Regions from separate parts of the Homo sapiens genome. Here region 2 is linked to region 1. The links are contacts of gene promoters, found by promoter capture Hi-C in blood cells and fetal thymus (Javierre and others, 2016). All regions are on one chromosome and are shown on one strand. Each heading gives the region's core, a stretch centred on a gene start or on the middle of the fragment in contact. The rest is flanking DNA. Distances are from core to core; before and after follow the strand shown. Region 1 holds the start of APOA4 (apolipoprotein A4). Region 2 overlaps CEP164 (centrosomal protein 164).

Evidence for each region. Contacts are between HindIII fragments. The CHiCAGO score rates a contact against its expected background, and 5 or more counts as called.
Region 2: a contact is called between a fragment that was not itself captured here and the fragment with the promoter of APOA4 in region 1, in 1 of 17 cell types (neutrophils). The highest score is 6.2, in neutrophils.

Annotation. Positions count from the first base shown.
Region 1 is chr11:116,822,054-116,825,547 of GRCh38, reverse strand. APOA4 (apolipoprotein A4) reads left to right here and starts at 2,244. Exons shown (of 3, transcript NM_000482.4): 1 at 2,244-2,405; 2 at 2,763-2,889. The coding sequence starts at 2,357. RefSeq lists enhancers at 1-35, 1-256. The HindIII fragment of the contact is 18,172 bases long and covers 1-3,494 here.
Region 2 is chr11:117,355,294-117,358,787 of GRCh38, reverse strand. All of the region lies in intron 5 of CEP164 (centrosomal protein 164), which reads right to left. Among named protein-coding and RNA genes, the nearest start is that of CEP164, 29 kb to the right of the region's middle. The HindIII fragment of the contact is 2,770 bases long and covers 279-3,048 here.

The sequences.
Region 1 (3,494 bases), core at 995-3,494:
CATCTAAGTAGAAGACCTCCTGGGCACCACCACCATTGCCCTCCATCCCCCAATGGGAGGTCCCCTGAGAGCCTCAGGTCCCAAGATTCTGCTCAAGCCAGCTGCTCCTGCCCAGGGAGTGTGGCTGGGGGGCAAGAAGGGCAGGAGTCAGGCCTCAGGCTGGTCCCACCCATCACCCTGCCTCTGGCCCACCTGGCGCCCCTCAGAGGGCTGAGTCTCACTCTGCCACTCTCACTAGAGGAGGGAGCACTCTGCTACCCTCCCTGCTTTGCTCCAAATCAGGAACACAGTATGATTATTATACAGTATGATTATTATAATAACAGCAACTATTTTTCAGAGCTTACTCTGTGCCAGGAGCTCTATAGGCAGCCCTCTGTATCCTTGGTTTCTGTGTCCATGGATTCAACCAACCTTGGATTGAAAATAATTTTTTAGGCCGGGCGTGGTGGCTCACGCCTGTAATCTCAGCACTTTGGGAGGTTGAGGCGGGCGGATCACGAGGTCAGGAGATCGAGACCATCCTGGCTAACACGGCGAAACCCCATCTCTACTAAAAATACAAAAAAAAAAAAAAAAATTAGCCGGGCGTGGTGGCGGGCGCCTATGGTCCCAGCTACTTGGGAGGCTGAGGCAGGAGAATGGCGTGAACCCGGGAGGCAGAGCTTGCAGTGAGCCGAGATCGTGCCACTGCACTCCAGCCTGGGTGACAGAGCAAGACTCCATCTCAAAAAAAAAAAAAAAAAAAAAAATATATATATATATATATATATATTTTTTTTTTTAAATTGCATCTGTGGGCCGGGTGCAGTGGCTCATGCCTGTAAGCCCAGCATTTTAGGAGGCAGAGATTGGAGGATCACTTAAGGCCAGGAGTTGGAGACCAGCCTGAGCAACATAGCGACACCCCATCTCCATTAAAAACAATGTTTTAAAAAAATTGCATCTGGGCAGGGCGCAGTGGCTCACGCCTATAAGCCCAGCACTTTGGGAGGCCCACATGGGAGGATTGCTTGAGGCCAGGAGTTGGAGACCAGCCTGAGCAACATGGTGAAACCCCGTCTCTGCTGTAAATACACAAATTAGCTGGGCGTGGTGGTGGGTGCCTGTAATCCCAGCTACTCAGGAGGCTGAGGCAGGAGAATCACTTGAACCTGGGGGGCAGAGATTGCAGTGAGCTAAGATCGTGCCACTGCACTCCAGCCTGGGTGACAGAGTAAGACTCCATCTCAAAAAAAAAAAAAATTGCACCTGTACTAAACATATACAGACTTTTTTGGTGATTACCTCCTAAACAATACAGTATAACAACCATTCACACAGCATTTCCGTCGTATTAGGTATTATAAGTAATCTAGAGATTTAAAGTATGTGGGAGGCTGTGCTTAGGTTATATGCAAATACTATGCCATTTTATATCAAGGACTTGAACATCCATGGATTTTGGTATCTGCAGAGGGTCCTGGAATCAATTTCCCATGGAGACTGAGAGATGACCGTACTACCCACTTCGCAAGCAATGTCTTCTTTAATGTACTGAACCATCCCATTGTTCAGAGGAGAAACTGAAGCTCAGGGCTTTGAATAACTAGACCAAGGAGGCACAGCATGGGAGTGGGACATGAAGCACTCTACAATTAACCCTTTCAGGACAAGGCCCTGTCTCCCACACCCATCTGCCCAAAGGCTCTCCAGGGCCCCCTCCTCTTGGGTGTACCTTGACAAGAGACCTAGATTTTAGCTCACTATGCTGTCTGCAGTCCTGGATGGTCCCACTCCAGTGTCTGGTGCTCTGAGATGGAGTCAGCATTAGTGGCGGATGTGGAGACTGGGGGGACCTGTCTTCACTGGGGTAGACAGAGGAGATGTGGACTTTGCCCCCCATGAGCCCGGCACAAACCCAGAGCCGCCAGCAGGGCCTCGAGGCATCAGTCCCGGGCTCATGGGCTCCCTGAGGTGTTTCTCCTACTGTTTTCCGTTCCCCTCCTCCCTTCCATGCTGAGGTTGGTGGGGTGGGGGTGGGGGTGCCCACGCACGGAACAGCCACCACTTCTAACTATCGCCTGAGCCCTGATCTGCTGTCAGCTTCCACGTAGTCTCAGGGTCACAAAAGTCCAAGAGGCCTCTTGGGAATGTGTCACCTTCCAGCGTGGAGTCACACTGAGGAAGGAGGAGGGGAGGGCAGCCAGGGGGGTGGCGATAGGGAGAGAGTTTAAATGTCTGGCTGGCTCTGAGCTTCAGTCAGTTCCCACTGCAGCGCAGGTGAGCTCTCCTGAGGACCTCTCTGTCAGCTCCCCTGATTGTAGGGAGGATCCAGTGTGGCAAGAAACTCCTCCAGCCCAGCAAGCAGCTCAGGATGTTCCTGAAGGCCGTGGTCCTGACCCTGGCCCTGGTGGCTGTCGCCGGTGAGTAGAAGCTGTCTTTGGATGGCACTCCTGGGCTGCTGCTCTGAGTAGTGCAGGATGGAGGCTGAGCCAAAGCAAAAGGACACTTCTGAGTGCCCATCAGCCCCCAGCTGGACATGAGGTCTGCCTGGCTGCCAAGTGGCTCACAGGAGAGCTGGCCCAGTCCCAGTGGTGGGCCCATTGGCATTGGTGCTATACCAGTTTCACATATCCCTGTGGCTTCCAAAAAGCTAAGCTCAGACAGGGAAAATGGCAGGTTGAGGCACCCCCACCATCATCCAGTCTGCAGCTCAGAGCTGGAGCAGAGGGGCCACACAGGAGACGGGGCCTCATGAATTGCTCTCTGTTACCACCCAGGAGCCAGGGCTGAGGTCAGTGCTGACCAGGTGGCCACGGTGATGTGGGACTACTTCAGCCAGCTGAGCAACAATGCCAAGGAGGCCGTGGAACATCTCCAGAAATCTGAACTCACCCAGCAACTCAAGTAAGAGGGACTACAGTGTGCGGTGGTGACGGGGAATTCTTAAAGGCCATGCAATGTACTGGCAAGGGTTGAGCTTAGAGACAGGAGCCCTGAGCTTAGGATACCCACTGCCCTGCCACTAACTGGCCGGGCCTCTGAACCTAGGATCCACATATGTAAACCGGAAGTTTGGACCGAATAATCCCTGCCATGTCCTTTTGCTTTGACGTTCTAGAGTTTGACAAATGGCCACATCCTATCATTCAGGCTCATGGAAGAGAGGGAGGGAGGAAAATGTCACGTGAGCTGATTTCTAATACGTTTCAGAAAGACAGGCCCCAGTGGAATCAAGGGGAGGGAGGTGGGAATATTTGGGAGGCCCCTGGGCACAGGCAAGGAAAGCAGCACCTTGTGCCACTGGAAGACCCCAGCAGAGGTCAAGAAGACAACATTGTGTTACACAATGTGATCCTATGGCCCAGAACACTCCCTCTGGGAAGGACCTCAAAGTCCCACCCTCTGCAGACAAGGAGGGGAAAGCAAACTGCTGGAGGTGACATGGTGGGTAGATTCTGAGACAAACTATGTGGGAGATCCTGAGATAGAAATTCAGCATCGTAACTTAG
Region 2 (3,494 bases), core at 414-2,913, 530 kb before region 1:
CAAGGCAGGAGGATCACTTTTAGGCCAGGGGTACAAGACCAGTCTGGGCAACACAGTAAGACCCCATGTCTACAAAAAAATAATTTTTAATTAGCTGGGTATAGTGGTACACATCTGTAGTCCCAGCTACTCGGGAGGATTGCTTAAGCCCAGGAGCTCAAGGCTGCAATGAGCTACGATCACACCATTGAACTCCAGCATGGACAACAGAGCAAAACTCTGGTCTCTTAAAAAAAAAAAAAAAAAAGGCCGGGGGAGGGGAAGAGCCCAAGAAAGCTTCTTCAAGGTTAACTAGGCAAACCAGGCATGCCCCTCCTGGTTTCAGCCCTTCAAACCAGCCTATGTATCAGCAAGCAAAATTATCCCCACACTGTATTTATGGAAATACAGACTCCTAACATGGCTGGCTAATTTGCTAACATGCTGGGGGCTTGAGGGAGGGAGACAAGCATGCTGAGGGCTTTGTTCTCCCAGGCCTTGACCAAATCAGCGATTAGTGGAGAAATTATACATTCCTGGCTCCTAGCTGATCATCTTCTATAGATGGCCATTAACTCTGAGTATGGGGCTATGCGTGGAGTTGTCCTTCAGAGCAGATAGACTTACTGCCACTGGGCTAATTAAAACTTTCAGGATAATCTGCAGCTTATCCGATATTTATAGTGCTACAGTAGTTATTAAAGCTAACAGAGAACCAGTGCAAGCCAGCAATTAGGAAGCAGAGGGAACAACTGGATAAAGCCACAGCTGGGCAACAACAAAAGAATAGCTGGAGAAATTCAGATTGATCCCCATGGTCTCTGATCCAACTTGACTTCTGAATGAAGAATATAGTGACTCTTTAAAGGGACAAAGGTAGAATGATAGGGCAAGGTCAGCCATTTGATAAATCCCAGTAGAGGAGGAAGTGAACTCAAGAGTGACGTCACAAATATGGTCTACACAAGCCTGACACAGGTTATCCATGTGGTTTTCTGGGGACCCTAGGAGGCAAAGAGCAGAAGCAGCTCACTGGATGGCAGAGAAAGGTTCTGGCCTCCGTCTCTCATAAGAATATTAGCTCTCAGCCCAGGCACGGCAGTTCACACCTGTAATCCCAGGACTTTGGGAGACTGAAGCAGGCAGATCACTTGAGGTCAGGAGTTTGATACCAGCCTGGCCAACATGACAAAACTCCGTCTCTGCTAAAAATACAAAAATTAGCCAGGTGTGTTAGCACACGCCTGTAGTCCCAGCTACTCAGGAGGCTGAGGCACAAGAATAGCTTGAACCCAGGAGGTGGAGGTTGCAATGACCTGAGATGGCACCATTGCACTCCAGCCTGGGCAACAGAGCAAGACTGTCAAAAAAAAAAAAAAAAAAAAGAATATTAACTCTCTAATCAGGTGCAGTGGCTCATGTCTATAATCCCAGCACTTGGGGAGGCCAAGGCAGGTGGATCACTTGAGACCAGGAGTTCGAGACCAGCCTGGCCAACATGGCAAAACTCCATTTCTACTAAAAACACAAAAAAATTGGCTGGGAGTGGTGGTGAGCACCTGTAATCCCAGCTATTTGAGGGGCTGAGGCACGAAAATCACTTGAACCTGGGATTCAAGCGATGGAGGTGCAGATTGCAGTGAGCCAAGATCCACTGCACTCCAGCCTGGGCAACAGAACAAAACCCTGTCTAAAAAATAAAATAAAAATAAAAAATAATATTAACTTTCTAGTTCTGTCTGATTTCGAGAAGAAATAAAGTTCAGAGCTTTGGGGTAGGCTGCCTATTTCCAAATAGGAAGGACCTCTCTCTAGAATCAGCTGATAGGAAAAACTTCCCAAATCCCAGGAAGGTGTTTATATCCTGCACGAATGCCAGGATTAGCGACGTTCTGCTCACCCGCAAAACTGATCATGTTCAAAGCACATGAACCACCCATGAATTACAATTACAGCCAGGGAAGGGAAATCAGAGATACCCTCAGCCCTATCTTGCAGGTGATGGAGTAGAAGAAACTTCAAGTATGTGTCATTCCATAAAATGGCCATTTGGGTAGTTAAAGGGCCAATAGTTACCACGGTAGGGTGGGTAACAGGAATGCAGGCCTGATGGCTGTGGTAAGACATCAACTCCACCTGCTCCCTCCCTGCCAAGTTTAGGCCTTTAGGCCATGCTCACTAAGAAGCCTACCTGGTTGAGATGCTGCATCTTGCCTGGCTCTGTAGTAAGCCCTCTGCTGGAGCTCTGCTGGACTAGCCCCTGCCTGAGGGTGCTGCTGCTTGGCTGGAAATGGGCTTGCTGAGAGGCCTCTTGCCAAGCAGGGGCGAGGGCCACCTCCTGAGGATGTTCCAGCAGCTCTGGCTCCCATGACAGAAACCTCGAGTCCCTCTCCATGACTCTGATGGCCTCGTGCTCACCCTCACTAGACATCCTAGAAGACTCAGCTGCCATGCAACAGACTGTGCTGGCGCTGTGTCTGCACGGCATGTCCTGCATGCTCTCAGGCAGCCCCAGGCCCTCCGGCCACCTGGAGATCTTGACCATCTGCAGGATGTGCTGGTAGAACCTCTGGTCCTCAGAGTAGTCTTCACTTTCTGACTGCTCCTCGTCAGGGCTCTGCATGTGGGACATGTGAGGATCTAAGAAGGGGCTGAAGTGTTGATCTCTGAGACCCGAGTCTGACTGAGCCATACCCTCCTCAGATCCCCGTGAGCTCTGCAGGTTCCAAGGGAAGTTGTTCACCTCATCCAGGACAGGAGAGCCCAGGTGTGAGGCCAGGTTGCTGTTGCTGCTGCTGCTGCTGCTGCTCTCCAAGTCAGGCCCAGACAAGCTAGGCTTCTGATCTTTATAAGGGAGCTCTGCAGACCCTAGGGCCTGTCTCTTCTCACTGGCAGGAGGCTCCTCGGGAGCCCTCCCTAAAAGGGGATTCTGAGCTGGTTCTGATGCCAGGGTTTCAGGTGGTATTAGCAAGAGACCCTGAGGTAGATCTTCAGCTGAGGCCCCTAGAGCCTCAGGGTCACTGGGCTCTGTTTCCTTGCAGCTTCCTGGGATATCCTTATTGACAAGCTTGGAGACCTGTTCCATCCACAGTCCAGGAGGTTCTCTCCTCCTCCTCCCGCTGCCTATGCTCCCACCTTCCCCAGGAACTCCCTGCCAGCTCAGGTCTTCAGTAGGGCTGCTATCTAACAACAACTTGCTCTTCCTGGCAGGCAACATGTGGCCGGAAGAACAAGAGGACAGGGAGGGCTCCTCCTCAGGGGATGACATGGGAATGGGGCTTTGGCCCTTGTCCCCTCCAGGGCCAGTGGGGCTCAGTTTGGCTAAGCTGTGGCTGTGCTGCTCCCCTTTCAGTGGCAGGCCTTTGATGGCTTCAGAAAGCTTTGAGTGGACAGAGGCCTGGTTCCTGCTTTCTACCACATCCTGCATATTTTGGAGAAGCCCAGTGTTCTGAGGGGCTGGAGTGCCCAGTTTCTGCTGCCTGCTTCTCATTTCCAGCTCTTCTGTTTCAGGATCT